Linked DNA regions of Homo sapiens: all the other regions are linked to region 2. Evidence: promoter capture Hi-C in human tissues and cell types (Jung and others, 2019). All regions are on one chromosome and are shown on one strand. Each heading gives the region's core, a stretch centred on a gene start or on the middle of the fragment in contact. The rest is flanking DNA. Distances are from core to core; before and after follow the strand shown.

The links. The method cuts DNA at HindIII sites, captures the fragments that hold promoters and counts their contacts. A contact is called where the count stands out against the background at its distance.
Region 1: a contact is called between a fragment that was not itself captured here and the fragment with the promoter of CMTM8 in region 2, in 1 of the 25 tissues and cell types used here (adrenal gland).
Region 3: a fragment that was not itself captured here is called in contact with the fragment with the promoter of CMTM8 in region 2 in 1 of the 25 tissues and cell types used here (H1 embryonic stem cells).

What each region holds. Positions count from the first base shown.
Region 1 is chr3:32,410,780-32,415,698 of GRCh38, reverse strand. All of the region lies in intron 1 of CMTM7 (CKLF like MARVEL transmembrane domain containing 7), which reads right to left. Among named protein-coding and RNA genes, the nearest start is that of CMTM7, 21 kb to the right of the region's middle. The HindIII fragment of the contact is 3,147 bases long and covers 1,976-4,919 here.
Region 2 is chr3:32,236,548-32,241,305 of GRCh38, reverse strand. CMTM8 (CKLF like MARVEL transmembrane domain containing 8) reads right to left here and starts at 2,626. Exons shown (of 4, transcript NM_178868.5): 1 at 2,187-2,626. The coding sequence starts at 2,333. RefSeq lists a silencer at 2,613-2,822. The HindIII fragment of the contact is 9,285 bases long and covers 1-4,758 here.
Region 3 is chr3:32,449,974-32,454,612 of GRCh38, reverse strand. It overlaps CMTM7 (CKLF like MARVEL transmembrane domain containing 7), which reads right to left. Exons shown (of 5, transcript NM_138410.4): 4 at 2,140-2,221; 5 at 1-372. The coding sequence ends at 359. Among named protein-coding and RNA genes, the nearest start is that of CMTM6, 51 kb to the left of the region's middle. RefSeq lists an enhancer at 383-883. The HindIII fragment of the contact is 6,848 bases long and covers 1-4,639 here.

The sequences.
Region 1 (4,919 bases), core at 2,300-4,799, 170 kb before region 2:
AGGTAATAAAAAAATAACTAACATTCACTCAGAGCTTAAATACTTCAGAGAAGATCTGCACAGTAACCCTGAGCAGGTAATATTATCACCCCCATCTCACGGAAGAGGGAACTGAGGCATAGAGAAGGCAGGTGATGTACCCAAGATTTCACTGAGGAGTAGGAATCCAGCAGTTCCACTGCCTCAGTTTCCCTCCCTTATCAGGAGATGAAGAGTAGCATGAAAGAAAGTACTTAATCCCAACGGGAGGGCCTACTGAAAAGGCAGCATGACAGTGGAAGACGACCTGCAGGTGTCACAAAGGTGCTGATGGTCTCAGGTCCCTGCTGGTTTGCTTGACACAAGGCAAGGGAAGTTATGAAGGTGGCCTGTGATCTGTATGGCAGTGAGAAAGTCACTACTTGACATTCTCATCCTTTAGAGAGTGTATCCACAAGGGGATGCGTTAAAATGCAGGTCCCTGGGCCCCTCAGCCAAAGTTTATTATTATTATTATTATTATTTTGAGACAGAGTCTTGCTCTGTCACCCAGGCTGGAGTGCAGTGGCGTGATCTCGTCAGCCAGAGGAGTTTTTAATCCAGTGGGTCTGAGCTGGGGCCCAGGAATCTGCGTTTTGAACAGGTTTACTTCCATCCCCAGCTAAAGTACTTTGGCTGGTCCCTGGGCTAGACTGTGGACAACCTTGGCCTCTACAGAAGAGAGGCAAGACAATACAGATTAAGAGCTTGGCTTTGGAGTCAAACAGTTCTGGGGTCAAATTCCCATTGCCTCTTAGCTGTGTAACCTGGAAAGGCTATGTAACCTCCCAGGGCCTGTTTTCCACCTGGAAAGTGGAGGTGACAAATAGTACCCCACTTAGAGAGCTCTTCCAATACCTGAAAAGCACTACGCACAGTTCCTGGCATGCATCACATGCTCTGCCCACAAGAGCTAAATGCAAAAGTAAAACTCTCACTGGGTCCCTGCAGCACTTCCGTTGTCGTAAAGAATTGGCAGGCTCCATATCATAACATTCTTGGGTTATCATTTCCTCTTCCTTAGCTAAATTTTCTGGAAGGAATCTCTTCCTGTGTATGAATCAGAAACTCAAGAGAAGCCACACTTCCCCAGCATCCCTTTTCCTCCCATGAAGCTTCAATGGTAAAGTTTCTTCACCTCTCCCCTTGCCCCAGGGATGGAGATTGACATTGACTTAGAGTGGACATCTGTTCAGGGGCAGATGGTCTGTGCAATTTGAATATTTATTATCTTGGTAATTTGTACTTCACCTCTTCCTAAAGTAATGAGGCAATAAAAGGAGCCTTAGTAAGAAATGTCAAAGATGAGGGGACGAGCAGAGACTTGCACCAAACAGAAGCTGTGAACGCAGTGCTGAAATACAGCGGTAAAGAAGGTGCAAATTTTCAACGTCAGTGGAACGTGGAGAATGAAAACTGAACCAAGAAAATGTAGCTTGGTCATTTGGTCCTGGGGTGGTGGAATTCCCTGGAAATAGACTCTGAGAAAGAGATTTGCATGCAAAAAGTTAACTGGGGAGTGCTCTCCAAGAGATTACAGTGGGAGAGTAAGCAAGACAGGACCAGGTGGAGGGAGGATTTGAGCAGTCATAACAAAGGCCTTGGCTGATACTCCGAGGAGCACTGAAGCTAGGACCGCTCTTCAGAGTTTTCTCTGTTGAAGCAAGCAGACCAGGCCTTCCTGACTCTCCACTGACCACTGGATACAGGCTGCCCCCAGGGAGAGGTTAGGCATCATCTTGGGTGAGGCGAGTCCCTTTGGTGGACATCAATTTGTGGGGAGGGACTCAGCAGGCCACATTCTTGGAACCTGCGGCGGATGAATGCCTCAGCAATAAAGGGGATATTTGGGCACACACCAGTATGGCCACTGCAACTGTTTAAGTGGGCTCTTTCCCCAAAAAAGTAGTTTAAAAAGAATAGAAAAATCTTGGCCCAAACTTGAATAGCCACATAGGAAAAAAGCTGCCTACTGACCAGGAACCCCCATGCTGGGGTTCCTAAATGGCTGAGGGAGAAAGCTATCGTGTCAAACCAGTAACATTTGAGAGTTATTTGTTACAGCAGCTAGTGTTGCACTAATAAAAAAATCTAAAACTATGAGAAACACTGTGAATGAAAAGAACTGGGTGCTATTAGAGGAGTTATAATGGAGATGAAGATTAGTTACCTCTGAGTACAAATGAAATGGACCAAAGGTGTGTTAATAATATCTTCTAATCACTCTAATCTTATAACAGTTAATAAATGAATGTATCAATGAATCAGCTAATTCATTTGTTCTGATATGTCACTGTCTTTAAGGTCATAATCATGTTACAAATAGAGGTTATTTTGAAATCAACAAACTAAGTTATATATCCTGTGAATAAATATCCATCTCTCAGAATTTATCTTAAGGAAAATAATCTAAGTCAAAAGAAAACTCTACTGCATACCGTAAAACAGCGATTGGCCATTTCTTTTTGGTAAATGACCAAATAGGACATATTTTAGGCTTTGCGGGCCACACAATCTTTATTGCAACTCCACTCTGCAGTGCTAGTGTGAAAGTGACCATATGTAATACATGAATGAATGGGTTTGGCTGTGTTCCAATACAACTTTATTTACAAAAACAGGTGGCAGGCCAGATTTGGTCTGTGGGCTGTAGTTTGCCAACCCCTGAAAATGTTCAATGTAATATCATTTATAGTAGCTAAAAGCTCAAAAGCAAACCTACATGTTTAAAAGTGAGTGGTCACATAAATTTAAAAATATCCACTTAGATGATTGTACATATTATGTGCAATTATGAAGCTTTTATAGCAACAGGGACATTACCAAATATTAAATTTTGTAATAGAAAAATAAGCAACAAAGCAGAATCTATTATTGTCAGTAGGGTAACAGCCCTGCAAACTTTACACATATTCTTAAACAAGGGCCAAAATATAACATTGTAGAAACTGTGGAATGGTGGGCGCATGGGTGAATTTAGTTGTTTCAAATAACTTTCAGATTTAATTATATTAATGTTTCCCTATTCATATTTGTGTAGTAACAAACATCTCAAAAACTTAAAAAAAAACGCTAGGTCTATAAAATCCCTTCAACTTAAGACCCAGATGAAAAAAACTGCTGGAGGAATTAATGATGCAGTGTGTGTGTGTGTGTGTGTGTGTGTGTGTGTGTGTGTGTGTGTGTGTGTGTGTGTGTGTCAGTCTCAATCTGTTGCCCAGGCTGGAGTGCAGTGGCATGATCTCAGCTCGCTGCAACCTCTGCCTCCTGGGTTCAAGCAATTCTCCTGCCTCAGCCTCCCGAGTAGCTGGGACTAGAGGCGTGCGCCACCATACCCGGCTAATATTTTTGCATTTTTGGTAGAGATGGGGTTTCACCATGTTGGCCAGGATGGTCTCAAACTCCTGACCTCAGGTGATCTGTCTGCCTCGGCCTCCCAAAGTGCTGGGATTACAGGTGTGAGCCACCACACCCAGGCTGCAATGAATATTTTAATTTAGGTATATTAACATGCCCACTGCATCATTAATTCCTCCAGCAGCTTCTACGAGACAGTTAGCTATGGTGCGGATGTTGGCAAAGCCCAATGGAACCACTAACATTTTTGTGGCTAACAGATCCTCCATACTTCACCACTACCAAAAAGCCTACTTTATGAACTGACCAAGAAGATTGCAAACCTTGTACTTTTTCTCCCAACTCTGGGACTTTGCAGAGACTGTTCTCTTCTCCAGGACACCCTTCCACCTTTCCCTCCTGCCTTGCCCCTTCCCGTGCATTAGGTCTCAGCCTGGAGCTTCGTTCGAACTCCTGACCTCAAATGATCCGCCTGCCTCGGCCTCCCAAAGTGTTGGGATTAGAGGCGTGAGCCACTGCGCCTGGCCAAGTCGGGGTGTTTCAATGACCACTGGAAAAACAGTTGTGTAGTTATCACTGCCTATGCATGTGGCAAGGTCAGACACACCAGCATCAAAACGTGTGTCATAGGTGCCAGCAGGAGGAAGAAAATCTCAGAGACAAGAGTAGAGCACCTTGACCCCCAGGGTATGGGACTGATGGCGGGGACAGTGACTCAGGGGGTCACTTAGCAACATTCCCAAAGTGGGAGTCAAAAGCCAGTGCACAAACCCAGCACTGATGGCTTTTAGTTTTTGTGTGGATTCTTCTGAGAAATGCTGCATGGCTCACACTCTTGATAGCATAGAGGACAATAGCTTGTGTAGAAATATTCTAAAAATAAAAAGATTTAGAAGAGGAAGGCTCTGACTGTAAAAAAATTTTAGGGATATCTTAACCAATTTATTTTTCTTCACCTATTTTCCTTTTTATATATTCACAAAAATATGTAAAATTTATATTTAATTAAATCTAAAAGAGTTCTTTCAATAAGCATAAGACAAAAATCCTGAACGATAAGAGAGATTTGTGTTACCACATAATTATTATTTTTCTTTGTTTCTTAGGGAGTGCCTAAAACAATGGTGCCTTCGAGGTGATGAAATACCATCCTTGTTTAGGGTCTTGATTTTCAGCGACAGGGAAGCCGGCTCTGCCTCATTCACAGCTGTATCCCCTGCGGCTGACACAGAGCTGGGACAGAGCAGCCATTCAATAAACATCTGATGAAGTGACTTAAGGTAGCGCCTCTGCCAGGCAAAGGGCCACACCAAATGGCTAACACTCGAGTGAGGAAAGGTATCACAAACTGAGCTTGCCACTTCTGGCATTTGATTCTTTTAGCCTTTAATCCAATATAGTAATCCCACTATTCAGTGTTTCCTGGTGTTGCTTTAAATTAGAAACCCTGCCCTGAGAGCTTGATGAGCTGACAGACACTTCTGTCATCCCTCTGCTTGTCTCTGTTTGCTTCTGTTGTTTTGATTGTGAGTCTGTCGAAACCT
Region 2 (4,758 bases), core at 1,377-3,876:
AAGAGGGTATGTATAATTGGAGGCAGGGAAGAGGGCATCCCAGCTAAAGCCTCATCTTTCAGAGTAGAAAGGCAATGGATAATGTCTATGACTGGGTGGGTGAGGGAACACCAATAAACAGCATTATAAACACGTTGTTTAGAGCTCAAAGAGATGAAGACACTGGGAGAAACTTATATTTCTGCCTGTAGGACCGAATCTTTAAAATATGTGCATAAGGTGGGGCACAGTGGTTCATGCCTACAATCCCAGCACCTTAGGAGGCCAAGGCAGGAGGATTGCTTGAGCCTAGGAGTTTCAGAGCAGCCTGGGCAACACAGAGAGACCCCGTCCCTAGAAAAAAATTAAAAATTATCCAAGTGTGTTGGTGCATGCCTGTGGTCTCAGCTACTTGGGAGGCTGAGATGGGAAGATCGCTTGAGCCCAAGAGGTCAAGGCGGCAGTGAACCATGATGGTGCCACCGCACCTCAGCCTGGGAGACAGAGCAAAACCCTGTCTCAAAACAAAACAAAACAAACAAAAAAGGTGCATAATTAGCTCTGTCAAAAATAAAAACTATAGTAGTAATAAGGGTGATTTTGCTTACATGTTTTCCCATCTTTTTCAAAACGCTTAATGAAATCTAAAAGGATACATGCTAACATGTCAACAGTGATTATTTCTAGTAATGGGATTGTGGGCCACTTACATTTCTTTCACTTTTGTATTTCCTGAAAAAGCGCAGTACACAGAGCATATCGATAATAAATCAGAAAAAAACCCAAAGGCGTTATACTTCATGCCTGGCCCAAATCCACCCCAAGGTAGAAGGCCCATCTCTGTCATTTTAGCTTTTGTTTGCGCTGCTGAAGCAGAGGAGCCTGCCAACTCCTTCATTTGCACAGCAAATATTTGTTGAACTCCTAAAAGCTAGGCCCTGCAAGGCGATTCCAATACCTTCAGCTTTTGAGTCTCCTGAAGTCCTCAATACTCGCTGAGGGAACCAGCTGGGAGAGGAGCTAAGCCAACACTTCTCATACCTTATGTGCATTATGACCACCAGGGGCTTCATAGAGCAGGTCCGGGTGGTATCTGAGACTGGGGGAGCAAGCAAGCTACTTGAGGTACACAAGATTTACTTCAGGTTTCTCAAAGGAACCGCCCAGGTCTTCAGTCACTTCTGCACCATGATGGTGTGCCCATTCTCTAACTCCCACATAGGCTCATTTTCAATTCCCAAATATTTAACAAAAGTCTGTGAGAGATGACAGAGGGGCACTGCTGGGGCAGCTGGAAGCTGTCTCAACTGCTTGCAGTTATGAGCACGGCCCTGCAGAAAGGCAGGCCTGGGTTTGAATCCATGCTTCACCATCCACCGGTGTGATTTACGTCCCCTCTCTAGGCCTTCACAGGGGAGGGTGGTCGTTGGATTACACGAGGGTATGAGGACATCTAAAGGGCTTGACAAGATCCTGGTACACGAAGAAGACTCAAACAGTGACCACCTCTAACTGCTGACAGGACTCCAGTCCTTTCTCAGCTATGAAGGACTGGCTGGGACTTCTGGGAAGATCACGTGAGTTTTCAGCCTCTATGCCCTCCAATGAAGAGAAGAACGCCCATGCCCTGCCTCCTTCCCAGGAATGTTCTGAGCCTAAACCAGGATGTGCACAGCACCATGCAAAAGACCTCTTTGGTCCTAAAATAGGTTATGGCACTCAGATTTTATTCAGTAAAATTTTCCTGACTCACCTCAATGTTACTACCAGGGAGATAATTAGGAAAAGAAAGAAGCCCTTTCCTCTTCCCCTGATCTTAGGAAGCTTTATTTTCAGGGAGGAGGCCATCCACGTGGAGATCAGGTGAGAAAGGCACCAGGTGTCTCTGACACTCAACACAAACTCAATAGCCACTAAGCCAAGCTTCCTGCTCCCAGGATCTGCCGCCGCCACCGAGAGGACCCAACAAGCTGAATTTCTCCCACAGCAAGACATCCTGAGGATCACAACCCTTTCTTCCCAGGACAGCCCGAGTTTCCTGGACCTTGTTTAGAGTCTTTCACTTTGGGAAGAAGGCGAGGCTGAGCAAAAACGGTTCCCTAAAGCCCGCGGGAAGATCTGAGCAGGCTCCATCCCGAGAAGCACGGCGGAAGCACGCGCCGGGGTCCAGCTGAGCCCCCCGCCACCCCCGGCCCGTCGGCACTCACGATCTCGGCCACGATGAGGAAGCCGGGCAGGGTGCGGAGGAACTCCCGGTCGTAGGCGAAGCTGCTGCTGCTGGTGGAGAAGTTCTCTGCGAAGGAGCTGGCGGTGGTGGTGACTGTGTGCGAGCGGGCGCGCTGCGGCTCCTCCATCGTCGAGCCACTGCCGGGCTGGCGCGTCCCCAGGGACCCCGGCGGGTCTGGGGCTGGACGCGCGGCCCTGCGCCCTGGGGACACAGGCGCGGGGGAGGGGAGCGCGGCCCGCGCGGGGCAGGAGGTGCGAGGGGGGCGCCCGCCGGGGGCTGTCCAGGCGCGGCGGGTGTCCCTCTAGTGCGCGGTGCCCCTAGCGCCTCGGTGCGCGGGCTCCCGAGCTGCGCTGGGGCCCTAGAGGAAGAGGAGAGCGAGCGAGGGGAGGCTGCCGGGCAGCCGGGGAAGGCGGTGGAGGCCCGGAGGAGGGGAGGGGGCGGGGAGAGGGGCGGGCGGGAGGCGGGCAGGAGAGGGACCGCCCCGCGGAGGCGCCGCGGACGCCCGCCCTCTTCACCTGTTGCCCGACTCCCAGCGGCGGAGAAGGCGCCGCGTCGCACCCAGGGTGGCTGGGTTGGCAGCCTGGCGGGCGGCGCGGAGGAGAGGGCGCAGGGGTCCTTCTGGCCGTCTTCCGCTCCCCCTCCCGGCCTTTACTTCTGTCAGGCCCCGCCTGGCCCAGGCCCGCAGCCTGTTTCCTTCCACCTGGGCGGGTCGGGGGCTGCGGGCATTGGGGCCCCTTAAGGAAACCCAGGCCTCCAGGGACTCCGCCGCTCCAGGACTCGGCGCGGAGGGAATGACTGAGCGACGACCGAGGCAGGGGGTGATGTGGTACCTCGAATGCTGTGGAAATGGCAGGAATGATGACCCGGCCGGACCTTAGACCCGAGATCGATGAGAGGCCGCCAGCACTGCCCGGGAGACGGCCCGCTCTTCTCCCCCTCCTGCTGCGGCCGCCGCCAGAGCCCGGTGTTATTTCCTGCCCCTCCTGTCGGGAACAATTTGAGGAACCAACTTAATCGCTTGGCTTTGAGGGCGCGACGCTTCCAGGCGCTCTCCGCGGCTCTGTCCCGCGGACCGGTGGAGCCTGGGTGACGGCGCCTGGGCCGGAGGAGGGGAGATGTTTGGGGTCCCTGGCCAGGATGAATCAGCGTAACCGTCCCGTCACCCTCGGGGAAAAAAAATGTTTCAAGAAGGCTTGAAGGGTGTGATTTGTGTAATGTTAACTTTAGGACAAATGAGCTGTGCTTTCCTGGCATGGGAAGGGGATGGGGGTCCTCATTTAGTGAGGCAGTTTGTAACAGGGTCAGGGAAGAACTGAGCTCGGCTGCGTGCGTTTATCGGCTGTATGACCCAGAGCGAGTGGCTCTAGTTTTTGGACCTCAGTAATGCCATCTCTAAAATGCAGGCTTTGACAGATGGACCTCTGAACAAAAAGATTATCTTCCGCTTGGTCCCTCCTTCTATTTTGTGAAAGGGTAGCAAGAAACATTTTATCTGGAAGCCACCAAAAGAAAAGGAAATAATCTTTGGCTATAAATCGAGGGTATCTTTGATTCACAGTGAAGGCATTTCTGCTGATCTGTTCCAAGACAGGTTAAAAACGAGATCAGAAGGGACATTTTCTTCACAGTGTCTTATCAAGTGTGCTGAGAAGAAAGCAAAAACGACAATCTAATAAAATAAAACAAGGAATTAGTGTCTTTTAAGTCTAGGGCCTAGCCAGGAAGACCTCCAGGAGTAAAAGTTAAGGCTTCAAAAGCATGGCAAAGATGTAGATTTGGAGAGATTCCATCCATGTGCATTTGGTAAGCACCTTGGGCTGGTGGGTAAATTCTTAAAATTTAAAATATAGCACTTCTCCCTGGAGCAGTAGTTCTCAAAGTGGTCCTTGGACCAACAGCAGGTAAGTTCCCTGGGAACTTATCAAAAATGCAAGGTCTCAAGCCCCACCCCCAGACCCTCTGAATCAGAAACTCTGAGGGTGGAGCCAGGAAGCTGTGTTTGAACAAGCCCTCCAAAAGACACTGATGCATGCTGAAGTTAGCTGCTGCTTTAGAGAAACTGTTAATGAGTTTGGGGAAATAAGAGATACATACATGAAATGGCTGGAGGAGACTCAAGCATTATGCATGACATTTAGTGAACGTAAAAGACGGAGTCTAGACAACTTTATTTCCATAATATTAACAAAGGACAATCCTCTCTTAAAATTCCTGGGGTCAGATGAATTTCTAAATTCAGATTTTGTTTTTCAATTTAGAAAGGTAAAATGTGCATGTACCATATATTACATAATACCTTTGGTAAGGTCTGGGGTGACACTCTAATATACTAATTTTCTGCAAGGGAAATCATGAATGACATAAGTGTATGCTTGGATTATCTACTGCAATGTAATAAATGTTCACAAAATATTAGTGGCTTAAAATCACCATTTTATTTGCTCAGAAATCTGTTGTGTCAGGAATTTGGGAAGGGCTTGGCTGGCAGGTTCTTCTGCTTTGCATGGTGTGATTGGAGTCATTTACTCAGCTGCTTTCAGTTGGTGACTTGG
Region 3 (4,639 bases), core at 1,047-3,546, 210 kb before region 2:
GAAGTAGAAGGGATTTAGGCGGGAGTATTCACAAACCCCTTCAGCTGTGCTAAGTGGGGTTCATCAGTACCTGAGGTGGTTCTAGAAGCAGGAAGGCAGAAAACATTTCCCTGGAGGCTGCTTTCCTTTCCCAGAATGGGAGGGATGTTCTCCCCGGAAGGCTGGAGGAAGAGTTTCCGGCTGGCTCAGGAGCTCAGGGAGCTGGCTTCCTGGGAGAGCAGGAAGAGGGTGCAGGCCTTTCCTGGTGCCCACCAGCCTGACAGGACTTTGGCACAGGAACACAGGTCCAGAGGCCTCGCCTGGAGTACACGTCCTCCTCTCTGCAAAGCTCCTGAGGGGCCTAGGGGTTGTGGCCTCATCAGACGGCTGCATCTTGGGAAGGAAATGGCAGTCAGGACAGCTTGCCAGGGATGTGGCCCACCCACAAGCCACACTCCACAGGTTTGACTCCAAGTTCTGCTCAGGGGGGCACCTGTGTCCTCCACCCAGTGCCGACTTGCACTGAGATTATTCCATTTTTTAAAAATACATTTCCAAACAAGGAAAAAACTTCGGTAGTGCAGAGGTGACTCCCATCCGCACTCCCCCGACCTCAGTCTTACTCCTCAGCAGCAACCTCCCAAGCCTTTTAGCCATTTCTTTTGGTGATTCTTCCATAATTCAAAAAACCAATTTATACCAATATTTATAGATTTATCCTGTTAGACACCACCTATTAACTTCTCTTTTCCCCTATATTCTCTACGTTTAAAAATCATTCTTTTTTTTCTTAAACAGCTTTACTGGGATATTTTAATAATTCACATACCATACAATTCTCCCATCTAAAGTGTTTTTCAGTATATTCACAGGACTGTGCAACCACAATTTTAGAGCCTTTTCATCACCTCAAAAAGAAGCCTCATCCTCATTAGCAGTCACACCTGAGTCCTCTCCCAGCAGCCCCAGGCCGCCATGGGTCTACCTTGTGTCTCTATGAATCTGCCTGCTCTAGACGATTCTTATTAGTGGAATCCTACACTACATGGGCTCAGTGTAGGATTCCATGAGTAATGCCCTCAAAGAGGAGGCAAGTTAAATAAACTGCACAGTCATGCGATGGACTTAATGCTGCAACCCACGGAGTTGCTAAGAATTCCTAATGATGTTGGGAAAATGTTTGGTCAGTGGCTAAGTAGGAGAAAAAACATATTATGAAACAGCACATGAAGTTTGATCCTTTTAATAAAAGCAACAGATATATATATTTTCAGAGAGAAAATATCGAAAGGATACTCAGTGCTACTTCTGGGTAGTGTGATGACAGATGGCTTTTTCTTATTTTATTTTATTTTTTAAGAGACGGAGTCTGACTATGTTGCTCAGATTGGTCTCAAACTCCTGGGCTCAGGTGATCCTCTTGCCTCAGCCACCTGAGTAGCTGGTACTATGGGTACACACCACTGTCCCTGGTTCAGACGGTTTCTATTAAACATATTTTTTATCTGTATTTTCTAAAAACCTACATTTTATTTTTGTCATTAGGAAACTTAAGAAAAAGCTGGCTGGGTGCGGTGGTTCATGTCTATAATCCCAGCACTTTCAGAGGCTGAGGTGGGAGGACTGCTTGAGCCCAGGAGTTTGAGACCAGCCTGGGCAACATGGTGAGACTCCAACTCTAAAAAAAAAAAAAAAAAAAAAAAAAAAAAAAAAATTGAAATTAGGCATGGTGGTGCACACCTGTAGTCCCAGGTACTCAGGAGGCTGAGGTTGGAGGATCACTTGAGCCTGGGAGGCGGAGGCTGCAGTGAGCTCTGATCGTACCACTGCACCAGCCTGGACAACAGGGCAAAACCCAATCTCAAAAAAAAAAAAAGAAAAGTAAAGAAAAAGAAAGAAAGGAAGCAAGAAAGAGAAAAAAGCTTGGCCACCCGAGGCTGAAATGTTAGGGCATCCTTGGATGTGTGGAGATGGGAATGTGAGGGGAGATTCTGGGGTCACATCTTCCCCTTTGCTGGCCCCTGTGCTCTAATACTACTTCTAAAGTCCCCTTGGAACACAGCCTTCTCAACAGCAGGGTTTGTCCCTATGGCTGAAGTCAAGAACAAGCCATCCCCCTGTTCCTGAGAGATCCTCTGTGCACAGATAACCAGAACTCACCTGTGGACTGGGTTACACACGAGATCTTATAGGACAGCCATATGCTTGCCATGCAGAGGAAGGTGGCCATGAAACCAAAGATCTGCAGTGGAGAGAGGGGAGAGGAAGTTCACAGGCCATAGGGCTAATTACTCGGGCAATCCTGTCTGCTTCTCATCTCTGTGCTTGTTCCCTTCATGTCTCTGGCCAGAAAGGAGCTTGGAGAGTCATCTAACCCAACCACCTCATCCTGGATCAGGTGCAGAGAGGAAGCCCCGCGAGGCCCAGCCACTGGCCCCAGTCCTCCAGGTTGGGCCAGGTCAGGGCTGGCAGCCAGGCCTCTCGGTCTTCACTCTTGGCAGCTTCAGTGCCTGGTCTGGGTTTACATTTACAAGCAAGCTGGGGCTAAGCCAATGGACTTTGATTATCCTGGACCAAAAGAGAAGAAAAGGATGAAATTTTAATTTGGGTTAAAAAAATCTGAACGTTCCCATGATTTGTGGTGTAGTGGCGTTGTTCGCATTTCATTTGTAATGACTTTCTGTTCCATTCTGGCTTCATAGCCGTATTAGAGCCAGAAGCCGAGGCCTTTACATCTAGGTTTACGTTTGTACATATTAAACAATATTAGACTCAACTAAGTCAAGGCAGCACCCTTTCCCTTTCTCAGGGTCATCCAGCGCTCAAGTGTGAGGAAGGCTGACCTAGCCCAGCCCCCTCACTTGTAGATGAGATTCGGGTGCTGGGAGACGAAGAGTGCCTGTGGGAGGCTCATCAAATGGTCGAGGAAGAGGCAGTAGCTTCTTCTGGAATCTCTGGGCTTTGAAGCCTGCAGCCATTTTCCTTGCTTGTGAACAACACCGGCAGCTGCAGTGGTGAAAACTTACTGACCACTTTACTACATCCCTACCAGGGTGTGAGGCCCTGTGGGTGTATTGATTCCTTTAACCCTCACAACTCTGCTGGGTGGGTGCTAGGATTACCCACCCTGCTCCTCCATTTCACAGCTAAAGAAACAGAGGTACAGGCGGTCATCTGTTTTGCCGAAGGCCACAGAGCCAGCAAGGGCCAGATATGGGATGGGAGCCCAGGGAGCCTGGCTCCAGAGTCCGCACTCTGCAGTACCGGGTGCCTAGGTGTTCTCAGACCCACACAAAGGCCTCCACTTCACTACACCGCCACTGGTGTCCAGTGAGAATGGCGCAGGGGCAGCTAAGGGTAGGATTTTCAACAAGGTTTGGTTTTCTTTTCAAGCCCAGATGCTGCTTTACATAAACAGCTGCCCCCACCAGCCCACATCCACTTCTTCCCCGGGTTTCTTTTCCTGGGCTCCTTTTGTACCAATTGTCTACAGCACATAATTAGCCTATTAGAGCCTGTCCCGGCCTCTCATTGTCTGTTCTGCACAATTAGCACGTTATATACCATCCCGGTCCCCAACTGTCTGCACTGCATAATTGAACAGTTTATTATATCGCTACAGAATGCTATTCTAGACTACAACGCCTTGTTTACTAATTGTTTCATGTGTCTTGTCTCCTAAGCTAGATGACCACTTTCTTATAAGCAGGGACCATATTTTAAAAATTTCTTCTAACTTCCTCATAGCCCAGGTTTGGTCCTAGGCACACAGACAGCATATGATGAATGTTAGCTATAGAGATTCCAGGGCTAAACAGTTATGTGCAACCTGAATTACTAAACACAGTGGGAATCTCCTCAAGTGGGCCCGGAAACACAGTGGGCACAGGTCTCCTGTGTGCCTCTTCCAGTACCCTGCACTGTAGCTGGGCAGGTGTTAAGCTTCAGGGGGCAACCATCCCTCTCTTCAGAGACAGCAGAGAGAGGGGGCAGAGAGGTGTGATGGTGGGCTGTGGGAGGGCCATGTGGAGCATCAGTGTTGGGAGGTTTGGCCACCCTCTACAGTGACCTTCTGCCCCCATGCTGACCTTCAGAGGAGAGACTCCATCCCTCAGTGGAATTCCAGGAGCCAACCCACTCCCAGGCCAAAGTCTGGAAAATTTTGGTAATATACGTAAGTGAAAGACAATGAATGTCACATACAGAGAGAGCTTTTCTTTTTCTCTTTTTCTTTTTTTAAGACACAGGGTCTCAGTACGTTGCCCAGGCCAGACCGAACTCCTGGGCACAAGCATTCCTGCCGAGTGCCTGGGACTACAGGTGCATGCTAGCTACCACATCTGGCTTGAGAGAGCTTTTCTCAAAACTCATTTTTAAAATCTTGTCTGCTCATCAGTGAAGCAAATCAGTGTTGGCCCACAGGCCACTGAACTATAAATAGTTAGCTAAATCAGAAATCAGATGACAGGAATCTATGAATCTTTAAAAAAATAGCATATACATCTGTATGTATATACATATATATGTATGTATATATCTCACAGGACTGTATTTTTGTATATTTCCATCTACTTCTATTTATGGCTATCAGATGGATCAATTTTTGCCTCTGAAAGATACAGGAGTATTATTTCCTGGCCTGAATACTGTTAAAAATCAG